Regions from separate parts of the Homo sapiens genome. Here regions 2 and 3 are each linked to region 1. The links are contacts of gene promoters, found by promoter capture Hi-C in blood cells and fetal thymus (Javierre and others, 2016). All regions are on one chromosome and are shown on one strand. The core of a region is centred on a gene start or on the middle of the fragment in contact, and the rest is flanking DNA. Distances in the headings are between cores, read along the strand shown. Region 1 holds the start of FRGCA (FOXM1-regulated, gastric cancer associated). Region 2 has its middle 12 kb from the start of PDXK. Region 3 overlaps RRP1B (ribosomal RNA processing 1B).

The links. Contacts are between HindIII fragments. The CHiCAGO score rates a contact against its expected background, and 5 or more counts as called.
Region 2: a fragment that was not itself captured here is called in contact with the fragment with the promoter of FRGCA in region 1 in 2 of 17 cell types (M1 macrophages and naive CD4 T cells); the score reaches 5.1 in M1 macrophages.
Region 3: a fragment that was not itself captured here is called in contact with the fragment with the promoter of FRGCA in region 1 in 5 of 17 cell types (naive CD4 T cells, M1 macrophages, M0 macrophages and 2 more); the score reaches 6.3 in naive CD4 T cells.

The regions. Positions count from the first base shown.
Region 1 is chr21:43,138,788-43,142,697 of GRCh38, reverse strand. FRGCA (FOXM1-regulated, gastric cancer associated) reads left to right here and starts at 1,606. Exons shown (of 2, transcript NR_133677.1): 1 at 1,606-1,736; 2 at 1,885-2,175. The region is part of intron 4 of LOC101928369 (a long non-coding RNA gene); the gene reads right to left. RefSeq lists enhancers at 140-675, 676-1,213. The HindIII fragment of the contact is 22,159 bases long and covers 1-3,910 here.
Region 2 is chr21:43,705,573-43,709,482 of GRCh38, reverse strand. No RefSeq gene overlaps it. Among named protein-coding and RNA genes, the nearest start is that of PDXK, 12 kb to the left of the region's middle. RefSeq lists an enhancer at 1,722-2,255. The HindIII fragment of the contact is 1,247 bases long and covers 1,594-2,840 here.
Region 3 is chr21:43,681,374-43,685,283 of GRCh38, reverse strand. It overlaps RRP1B (ribosomal RNA processing 1B), which reads right to left. Exons shown (of 16, transcript NM_015056.3): 9 at 1,911-2,005; 10 at 634-731. Among named protein-coding and RNA genes, the nearest start is that of RRP1B, 24 kb to the right of the region's middle. The HindIII fragment of the contact is 2,065 bases long and covers 857-2,921 here.

The sequences.
Region 1 (3,910 bases), core at 357-2,856:
AACTTACTTGAGACTGGGTGATTTCTAAAGGAAAGAGTTTTCATTGACTCAGAGTTCTGCATGGCTGGGGAGGCCTCAGGAAACTTACAGTCATGGCTGAAGGGGAAGCAGGCACCTTCTTCACATGGTGGCAGGAGAGAGAGAGCAAGAGCAAGCGAAGGGGGAAGAGCCCCTTATAAAACCATCAGATCCCATGAGAACTCACTAGCTATCATGAGAACAGCATGGAGGAAACCGCCTCATGATCCAATCGCCTCCCTCCTTCAACACCTGGGGATTACAATTCGAGGTGAGATTTGGGTGGGGACACAGCCTCACCACATCATAGCCATTCTGCCCTCCCTGCCCTGCCCTGCCCTGCCTCCAGGTCTGCCTCCAGACCTGGAGTGTTTCTGAGAGTGGACCCAGCACAGGGAGGAGGTGGCTCAGGACACTCAACTCCTGGTCCAGCTCCCACTCATAGCTGGGGTCCTGGCCGGTGACTCCATCTCCCTTTCTGCTGTCTCCCTGTCTATAAGACAAGGGGCTGGGCCAGCCATCTCAAGGTCCCCTCCAGTTCCATCTTCCCAGGGCTGAGCAGGTCCTGGGCCTTGGCGTCACAGAGCCCAGCTCACAGGCCCACCCGGGAGAGGTATCGGGATGTGTCTTTGCCACATCATAAGTTAGGCAGAAAGATGTGTGGGACGTGGCCCTGCCCCCGGTCAGGACGGTGGACACATGCAAACGCCGCACAGACGCACCCTGCCCTGACACCGCCCGGAGCACCTGGGTGGCTTCCTGAATGGCGAGGCATGGTGGGCACTCATGGGCCTGCCGTGCACCCCACCTGCAGGGCACGTGCCCAGCAGACAGCAAGGGCTGAATGACAGGTGACAGGACGGCCGCCAGGCAGGCGAAGGTGGGGCCAAAGGCAAGGGTGGCTGCTCGGCTGCAGGGCACGGACACTCAGCCTCTATTTCCTCCTGGGGTGGCGAGGGGGGGCGAGGGAGGGGCGAGGGAGGGGCGAGGGGGGGCGAGGGAGGGGTGAGGGAGGGGTGAGGGACGGTCAGACCGGATGTGGCTGTGCTTCAGACCGCGCGGGAAGTCCTGGGATGGCGTGGAGCCCGCTTCAGCTGAAGGGACAGAGGGAGAGGCAGGGGCCAGACAGCGCCAACCACCTGAGACCCAGGCAAGAGACAGTATGGTGGGTGGGGGTACTGCCCAGTAAGGGCTGGGGGAGAGGACTGAGGAAACCCTCCCTCCATCAACGTGCCTGGGAGCCCTGCCAGGTGAGAGCCCTGTTGTTCCTGGATGACTGTGGACCGCTCACTCCGGCCCCTCAGCCCCTACCCAGCCTGCCCCCAGGAGCAGCACGGCTGGGCACCAGCATCTCTCCAGCTGGCAGTTGCCCCACTGGGATCCCCCAAATGCCCTGCAAGCCAAGGTGTGCAAGCCCTGCACACTGAGGGCTGGAGGGCAGCCCCCGTGCTGTGTTCCAGATGGAGGGAGGGGTGGGGAGGGGGGAGCTACACTGGGGAGGGCTGCGCCGGTCACTGCCGAGGAGGGAAAGCCTCAACATCACCCCTCTTACCCCCCATCTCCCGCAGCCTCCCAGCAAGGTTGTGGCCCGCAGCGGACGCTCCCCACGAGGTAGAGCCCCGTTTCCACACCTGGAGCAGCTGCACCTGGAGGTGGGGCTCATCTCCAGACCTGGAGCAGCTGCCTGCCCCAGGGCAGAAGCCACTGCCCGCAGCTAGGTGAGGCCATGTGCCCAGTCCTGGTCAATGGACTGAGCATGAGGGGATGTGTGCCCAGCAGCAGGGACTACTGTGCACTGAAGGCCAGGGCCGCTGGATTGGGACAAATAAATACAGCAGGTCCTCAAATCCCATCGTTTCATTCTAGGGAGCATTGAGGAGGTCTCCCCAGGTCCGCGCGGGTTTTCTCCAGGTCCTCCAGTTTCCTCCCACATCCCAAGTATACACCTCAGCCTCACGGCATGTCTACATGGGCCTAGTCCGAGTGAGTGTGGGTGTCCCATGGAGGCCTGTCCTATCCAGGGCGGGTGCCCACCTTGGCACTGAGCCTCCAGGATGGGCCCTGGTCACCTGCCACTCTGAACTGGAGAAAGCAAGTTGGAAAATGAATGAATACATGAATATAAATTATCAAATAAAAATTATAAAGCCTACGGTAATCACACAAACGCATGACAACAAACGCCGCGTGTGAGGGTGCTCAAGGAGCCGCCATACTCACGGTCGCTTGTCTTTCAGCTGTGCGGTGGGAGGAGGTGCTCCCAAGAGCGTGTGCTTTGCAGACATTGATTCCGTGATTTCACCACCACCACTACCACCGCCGTCACTCACAGACATCCCAAATATTGGGTAGATCATGATCTCACTTGTTTGTATTAATCTTCCTTATGTAGGTGTAGCTACCTCTACATGTAGGGATAGTTTACATTTATTTCAATGTTTAATATTAGAAGTGTTTGGGTCTTTAGAAATTTGGTGGTGTTTTTTGTTTTTTTGTGGGGTTTTTTTGGAAATAGGGTTTTGTTCCGTCGCCCAGGCTGGAGTGTGGTGGTGTGATCACAGCTCACCGCAACCTTAGCCTCTGAGGCTCAAGCAATCCTCCCACCTCAGCCTCCTAAGTAGCTGGGACCACAGGCACACACCACCTTTCCTGGCTAATTTGGGGGGCATTTTTTGTAGAGATGGGGTTTCATCATGTCGCCCAGGCTGGTTTTGAACTCCTTGCCTCAAGAGATCTGCCACCTCAGCCTCCCGAAGTGCTGGGATTACAGGTGTGAGCCACCACACCTGTTCTGGTGATGTTTTGAGAGCAGAAATATGCCTCTTTTTTTTTTTTGAGACAGAGTTTCACACTTATTGCCCAGGCTGGAGTGCGGTGGCGTGATCTCGGCTCACTGCAACCTCCACCTCCCAGGTTCAAGCGATTCTCCTGCCTCAGCCTCCCGAGTAGCTGGGATTACAGGCATGCACCACCACACCCAGCTACTTTTGTATTTTTAGTATTTCTCCATGTTGGTCAGGCTGGTCTTGAACTCCCAACCTCAGGTGATCTGCCCGCTTTGGCCTTCCAAAGTGCTGGGATTACTGGTGTGAGCCACCGCACCCAGCCTATGACATAGGAATTTAACTCTTGTTTATATCAACTAGCCTATGGTAAAATTGGTTTCATTATATGTTGTCTTGCTTAAAGTCACAGTTTCCAGGAAGCTGTGATGAAATTGAGGACTTACTGTATGCCATTATCTGTTTAAAAGAAATGATAAGTACCAACCCATGGCCCCTGTTTCCATGGGACCTAAGATGAAATGCCCAAGGTAAAGGCGATGGCTTCCATCTCCCAGTCCCCCGAGCCTGTCTGAGCTCCAATACTGGTTCTCTGTCCTGTGCCGTACCCCTTGGGAGACACTGACTTTCTCCCCCCAATCCAGTGGTCCCAAATAATCACCTCTGTAGTTGCAGAAGTGGAGAAGTGGACTGAGCCTTCACATTGCCTGAAAGATGGGGAACTCCGCCCTCTAGTGTCCGTCAGCACAGCAAGTGGGACACTTCCATTTCCAAAGTGGAAAGACGGTGCCTTTAAAGATGTAACCCCAACGGAGGTCAAGGTCTGAAAGGGGCACATTCTTTCCATGACTCTAGCCTGATAAAGACACCCACAACCCTCCCGCCACTTGCAAGATTTGATCCGAAACCAGCTTCTAACAGCTGCCAAACTAAAATGCCTTAGAGACATGGGGTAACCAAATTACAAACGCACGTTCCATTTGATGCAGCCATGCCACCTCTAGAACTGTATGCTGCAAATACAGAGTCGCACATGTGCAGTCACCTGTGCACAAGATTACTGTTGCAGCTGTTGGTGTTAGTGAAAAACGGACACTCCCTAAATGTGC
Region 2 (3,910 bases), core at 968-3,467, 570 kb before region 1:
TGGACCCAGGAGGCAGAGGTTGCAATGAGCAGAGATCATGCCACTGCACGAGTGAAATTCCGTCTCATTAAAAAAAAAAGAAAGAAAGAAAAAAGAAACTAAACATCTTACCTTATAATTCAGCAGTTGCACTCCTTGATCTTTACCCAAAGGGTTAAAAACTTATGTCTACACAAAACCCTGCACACCAATGTTTATAGCAGCTTTAGTAATTGTCAAAAACTGGAAGCCACCAAGGTGTCTCTCAGTAGGTGAATGAATAGACAAACTGTAGTGTACATTTGCAATGGAATATTATACAGCAATGAAAAAGAGTGAGCCATCAAGCCATGAAGCGATAGTGAGGAAACGTTAGGTGCACATTACCAAGTGAAAGACACTGATCTGAAGAGTCTGCCTACTGTGTGACTCCAACCAAGTGACATCCTGGAAAAGGTAAAACTATGGAGATAATTAAAAGGTCAGGAGGCTGGGCGTGGTGGCTCATGCCTGTCATCCCAGCAGGCGCGGTGGCTCATGCCATTATCCCAGCAGGCACGGTGGCTCATGCCGCCATCCCAGCAGGCGCGGTGGCTCATGCCGTCATCCCAGCAGGCGCGGTGGCTCATGCCTGTCATCCCAGCACTTTGGGAGGCCGAGGCAGGTGGATGTTTGAGCCCAGGAGTTCAAGACCAGGTTGGACAATATAGTGGGGCCCCATCTCAAACAAAACAAAACAAAACAAAAAAAACCCAAAAATTAACCATGTGTGGTGGCACACCCCTGTAGCGTAGACCTAGCTATTTGAGAAAGGCTAAGGCAGGAGGATTGCTTGAGTCCAGGAGGCAGAGGTTTCAGTGAGCCAAGATCATGCCTCTGCACTCCAGTCTAGGAGTCAGAGCAGACCCTCTCTCCAAAAAAAGAAAATGGTCAGGTGTTGTCAGAAGGTTAGGACAAGGGGGAAAGGAAAGGATAGGAGAAGCACAGTGGGCTTTAGGGCCAGAAAACGACTTTGTGTGACACTGTGATGGTCAAGGGGGAAAGAAATGGATATGAGAAGCACAGCGGGCTTTAGGGCCGGAAAAGGACACTGTGATGGTCTGCACATGAGATTAGCATTTGACAGACCCAGAGAAGGGCCCATCATGAGTGACCCCTGATGTGAACCAAGTGAACTCTCCTGTAAATAATCACATAACAGCAGGACGGCACCACACAGCTGGAATCGGCTATAGGGTGTGCACCAACTCACCTGCTGAAAAAAGAAAAATAAACAGCAAAATAAAGTAGAGATATTCATATGCTAATACGTTTAATTTTATTTTACTTTTTTGAGACAGGGTCTGCTCTGTCACCTGGGCTGGAGTGCAGTGGTGCCATCAGGGCTCACTGCAGCCTCAACTTCCTGGGCTCAAGTGATCCTCCTGCTTTGGCCTCCCAAGATGCTAGTATTACAGGCATGCTCCACCATGCCCAGCTAATTCTGTAATTTTCTTTGTAGAGACAGTGTATTAGACTGTTCTCATATTGCTATAAAGAAATACCTGAGACTGGGTTATTTATAAAGAAAAGAGCTTTAATTGGCTCACGGTTCTGCAGGCTGCACAGGAAGCTTGGCTCTGGCATCAGCTTCTGGGGAGGCCTTGGGAGCTCGCACTCATGGTGGGAGGCGAGCAGGGAGCAGGCGCCGCAACAGGGCAAAAGCAGGAGCAAGAGAGTGAGGGGTGGGGGTGCCACACACTTCTACACACCCAGTTCTCCTGTGAACTCAGAGCAGGGAGCTCAGTTGTCGCCAAGGGGATGGCCCCAGCCATTCTTGAGGGAGTCGCCCCCATGACCTCCACCTCCCATCAGGTCCCACCTCCAGCACCAGGGATCACATTCCAACATGAGATTTGGGCAGGGACCAATATCCAAGCTATATCAGACAGGGCTCACTCTGCTGCCCAGCCTGTCTTGAACTCCTGGCATCTCGGCCTCCCAAAGTGCAGACAGTACAGGTGTGACCCACCGCGCCCAGCCTGTGACTGCATTTTACTCCAGTATATGACTATTCTGTGGCTGTCTTCAGCCAGCTGTGTTCTCAGTTAATGGACATTTAGGTAGAGTCACCACTTTTTCACTATGGTGGAATCTCTTCTAACTTGCACGAATTCAACTGAAGGTGTGCAAACCCCCCCACCCAAGAAAAAGGGAGCACAACAACCCGTTTAAGACTGTAAAGTCGGCCAGGCACGGTGGCTCACGCCTGTAATTCCAGCACTTTGGGAGGCCGAGGCGGGCGGATCACGAGGTCAGGAGTTCGAGACCATCCTGGCTAACACGGTGAAACCCCGTCTCTACTAAAAAAAAAAAATACAAAAAATTAGCATGGTGTGCTAATTTAACAAAAAGTTAGGCGTGGTTGTGGGCGCCTGTAGTCCCAGCTACTTGGGAGGCTGAGGCAGGAGAATGTGTGAACCCGGGAGGTGGAGCTTGCAGTGAGCCTAGATTGCGCCACTGCACTCCAGCCTGGGTGAGAGAGTGAGACTCCGTCTAAAAAAAAAAAAAAAAGACTATAAAGCCGGTCAGGCACGGGGCTTATGTCTGTAATCCCAGCACTTTGCGAGGCCAAGGCGGGAGGATTGCTTGAGCCCAGGAGTTCGAGACCAGCCTGGGCAACATAGGGAGACCCCGTTCTCTGCAAAAAAGTTAAAACAAACAAAACCAAACTGTAAAGCCAGTGAGTCTGGCTGCTCCTGGCCTCTGTGGGTATATGGGGCTCGTGAGGCATGTCGGGAGCAAGGCTGTGGTTTGCCATACGACTCATTTTCTATGTTTGCTTTTATATGATAGAAATCATACTGTTTTTCAATTAAGCTTTATTTTTTATCTAATGATGCAAACAGTTCTTTTTTTTTTTTTTTTTTTTGAGTCAGAGTCTTGCTCTGTTGCCCAAGCTGGAGTGCAGTAGCGCCATCTCGGTTCACTGCAACCTCTGCCTCCTGGGTTCAAGAGATTCTTCTGACTCAGCATCCTGAGCAGCTTGGGATTACAGGCGTACGTCACCACACTGGGCTAATTTTTGTATTTTTAGTAGAGATGGGGTTTCGCCACGTTGGCCAGGCTGGTCTCGAACTCCTGACCTTAGGTGATCCACCTGCTTCAGCCTTCCAAAGTGCTGGGATTACAGGCATGAGCCACTGCACCTGGCCTCAAATTCGTTTTTATGTTTGTTTTTTCTTTCTTTCTTTTTTTTTTTTTTGATACAGGGTCTCACTCTGTTGCCCAGGCTGGAGTGCAGTGCCACGATCTCGGCTCACTGCAACCTCCGCCTCCCAGGTTCAGGCGATTCTCCTGCCTCAGCCTCCCGAGTAGCCGGAATTACAAGCATGTGCCACCATGCCTGGCTAATTTTTGTATTTTTAGTAGAGACAAGGTTTCACCATGTCTGCCAGGCTGGTCTCGAACTCCTGACCTCAGATGATCCACCCGTCTTGGCCTCCCAAAGTGCTGGGATTACAGGCGTGAGCCACCACGCCTGGCCCTATGTTAGTGTTTTCCTTATAGAAATCTTATTTTTTTCAATTAAACTTTATTTTCTATCTAATGATGCAAACAATTTTTTAAAGCAAAATAATAAGATCTTTAATGGAAAACAGCATTCCCTTCAGCAGGCTCTCCATCTGCATGTCTCATTCTTGATACAGGGACCACCTTTAACTCGTAGAGCTATTTATTCTGACTATTTATGTATTTGTTTTCTTTTTCTTTCTTTCTTTTTTTTTTTTTTTTTTGAGACAGAATCTTGCTGTGTTGCCCAGGCTGGAGGGCAGTTGAGTGATCTTGGCTCACTGCAACCTCCGCCTCCTGGGCTCAAGCAATTCTCCTGCCTCAGCCTCCCAAGTAGCTGGGATTACAGGCATCGGCCACCCTTCTGGGCTAATTTTTG
Region 3 (3,910 bases), core at 640-3,139, 540 kb before region 1:
GCTAGGACCATCCTGTGCCCTAAGAACCAGCTGGGAAATGGGCAAAACTACAGGAGCTACTTTCTGGGGGCTTAACATGGAATACTTGAATGTATACAAAGTGCTCAGAGCAGTGCCCGGCTCCTAGAGTGTGATCAGACAGTTGTTGTCACCAATGACAGCAAGCCACACGAGGCCCTCCATGAATTCCAGGTCATCATGTCACTATGGTCAGAGTGACATCAACACTGACAGCTGAATTAACTAACACTTTTGGCATAGCCATATGGGAGGGAGGGGAGAGGTAAAGAATTAACCCTATCTATCTCAGCAGCACACCAGCAGAAGACACCTAAATAGCAGATTCACATCAGTTTCTGGTTGGTTCATTTTAGACATGAATAGACTTCACATCATTCTAAAGCAGCTAAGAGATGAGTATGGCTGCACTGGAAGAATGGAACCTGAGGGGTGGGACTGCTGTTTCCATTAAGCTTTTCAGTTTACATGTGTCTATTACATTGCTATACACAAAAGCATTAAAGGACAAAAAAAGAAGAAAGAAAAAAGATAAGCATGCAGATGGCTTGTCCCACACCAGGAGATGAGAACTAAAGGAATGATGATGTCAGAACCCTCTCCCCAGTTACTGACTTCTTGATGAGTTTGGAGAGGCGCTTCCTGTTGAAGTGGGGCGTGTTCTTCCTGCTGGTCATTTCCAGGAGTCGATCAGCAACAGCCTTATAGTCAAACTAGGCAGGAAGAGAAACTAAACATAAGTCTGCAGCCAAACAACACTGCCTGACTTGGCCATTTACATCTGCTAGTAAGAGAAACCCTTACTGAAGCATTTGGCAACAGATAGGCTAAACAAGCTTGTGCTGGGACTTGGCAACCAGGAGCACAAGCACTACCTTTGAAAAATGCATGTTCAGGCCGGGCGCGGTGGCTCATGCCTGTAATCCCAGCACTTTGGGAGGCTGAGGCGGGTGGATCACAAGGTCAGGACATCGAGACCATCCTGGCTAACACGGCAAAACCCCGTCTCTACTAAAAATACAAAATATTAGCCGGGCGTGATGGCGGGCGCCTGTAGTCCCAGCTACTCGGGAGGCTGAGGCAGGAGAATGGCGTGAACTCAGGAGGCAGAGCTTGCAGTGAGCCGAGATCGAGCCACCGCACTCCAGCCTGGGAGACAGAGTGCGACTCTGTCTCAAAAAAAAAAAAAATTATTCTTGGGAAAAGCTGGGTAAGCAATTCTTAAAAAAAAAAAATTGTGATAGAGTACCCACAACAAAATTTACCTGGGTGTGCTTTTTTTTTTTTTTTTTTGAGCCAGAGTCTGTCACCCAGGCTGGAGTGCAGTGGCATGATCTCAGTTCACTGCAACCTCCACCTCCCGGGTTCAAATGATTTTCCTGCCTCAGCCTCCCGAGTAGCTGGGATTACAGGCGTGCGCCACGGTGTCGGGCTAATTTTTGTATTTTTAGTAGAGACGGGTTTCACTGTGTTGGCCAGGCTGGTCTCGAACTCTTGACCTCAGGTGATCTGCCCGCCTGGGCCTCCCAAAGTGCTGGGATTACAGGCGTGAGCTTGTAATTAAATTTTAAATTTAATCTAGATTTGCAATCTGTACTTGGCAAACTTTTTTTTATTTGAAAAGTGCCACTAGAGCTGGCTCTGTGGTAGAGAACAGAGGAGAGCTTAGCCATTCAAAATAAGTGCTACTATCTCTTTCAAAACTCCATCATATTTACATTTCCTTGTCTCCAATAAGGTTATTCTTCAGAAGGTGACATTTAGTGACTGAAGGGATTAAAAAGGAGTTTACGCTTCAGGCCTTATAGCTTAACTAGCTGTGACCCTAATTCTCTAGTCAGGCTACTCCACAGCAAATCTATATTCTATAAAAAGCAACAACTGCTACCCACCTGGAGAAGGGGCCCTGTGTCCTCAAAGGTTCCACAGTCATCTCTTCCTCTTTCATCACTGAGTCCATCTTTTCTGGAATGGTTTTTGCCCAGTGCTGTCAAAATATACCCAAAGACCAAATTATTGACATATCAAATACACAGAAGTGACTACTTCCACAGGAGCCACTGTCTAATTAGGTGTCTCTTAGCAAAAAAGAAGGTTGGGCACGGTGGCTCACGCCTGTAATTCTAGCACTTTGGGAGGCTGAGGTGGGTGGATCACTTGAGGCCAGGAATTCTAGATCAGCCTGGGCAACATGGCGAAACCCCGTCTCCACTAAAAATACAAAAATTAGCTGGGCGTGGTTGCGGGTGCCTGTAATCCCAGCTACTTGGGAGGCTGAGGCATGAGAATCGCTTGAACCCAGGAGGCAGAGGTTGCAGTGAGCCAAGATCATGCCACTGCACTCCAGCCCGGGCGACAACGAGACTCCGTCTCAAAAAAAGAAAAAATGAAAGAAAATTTATTTAAGGAGAAAAACTCTGCAAAGCCATTTATAATTTCCCAGGACATTTTGATTGTTCAGGCTATGGGAATGAAGGTAAGTCTGGGAAAAAGCACATGTTTTGCCTTTTGTACCCATAAAACCCCAATTCCCTGCTGCCTTCGATGATTTCCTCCCCCACACGTGGTCCCGTTAGGACGAAGGCTGCGGTGCATGGGAAGCTCCTGTCCAGGGACGCAGGCAAGCGGATGGGACACGGCATCGCCCTGGACCACCAGGGGTAGGAGCATGGACGCAGGAATCCGGCCCTAGTCTCAGGTCAGTTTAGGACCTTGGTGAGAACCTGTCACAGCAGTACAGTCACTTTTCACGAGCATGCTTCAGGAAGCACAAGTCAATATTAATGCAACTTTTAGCACTTAAAAAATTCAGAGTGTTACAGCCTATGAAGAAGCAGATTAAACAGACTCAGGAGAACTCAAAATTATTTTAAACGTGTACTGTTTCTGGAACCCTCTAAGCTTATTAGTGGTGCGACATCAGGGCAAGGCCTGGGGAGGATGGGGCAGGCGCAGCACACGTTTCATGAACGCAACTGGGAGGGAACGTCCGGAACTGCACTTGGAAGAGAGTCTGTGTCCAGGTTAGGCGACAGAAATGTGGGGAGCGGAGGGACCCAGAGACTACTCCCATGACCACATAAAATTTGCTCCAGGTCCTTAGTCAACTCTGTTATCTACACCAAATTTAAAATCAGACTATTTCTTTTTTTCGTTTTGTTTTAGAGATGGGGGTCTCATTATGTTGCCCAAGCTGGTCTCAAACTCCTGGGCTCAAGTGATCTTCCCATCTTGGCCTTCCAAAGTACTAGGATTATAGGCATGAGTCTCCACACCTAGACTAGACTATTTCTTTTATTCTTTCTTTTTTGAGACAGGGTCGCTGGTAGCTCTGTTGCCCAGGACGCAGTGCAGTGACACGATCATGATTCACGGCAGCCTCACCCTCCCAGGTTCAACTGATTCTCCCAGCTCAGCCTCCTGAGTAGCTGAGACCACAGGCATGTGCCATCACGCTTGGCTAATTTTAAAATTTTTGTAAAGTCAAGGTCTTGTTATGTTGCCCAAGCTGGTCTCCAACTCCTAGGCTCAAGTGATCCTCCCACCTCAGGCTCCCAAAGTGATGGGATTACAGGTGTGAGCCACCGTGCCTGGCCAGAGTATTTTTTCTTTCTTTTAAAGATTCTTGGCCGGGCATGGTGGCTCACGCCTGTCTGTAATTCCAAGACTTTGGGAGGCCCAGGCGGGCGGATCAACTGAGGTCGGGAGTTCGAGACCAGCCTGACCAAAAGATAGATACAAATTTTGCTAAGCATGGTGGTGCATGCCTGTAATCCCAGCTACTTGGGAGGCTGAGGCAGGAGAATTGCTTGAACCCGGGAGGCAGAGGTTGCAGTGAGCTGAGATTGCGCCATTGCACTCCAGCCTGGGCGACAAGAGCGAAACTCCATCT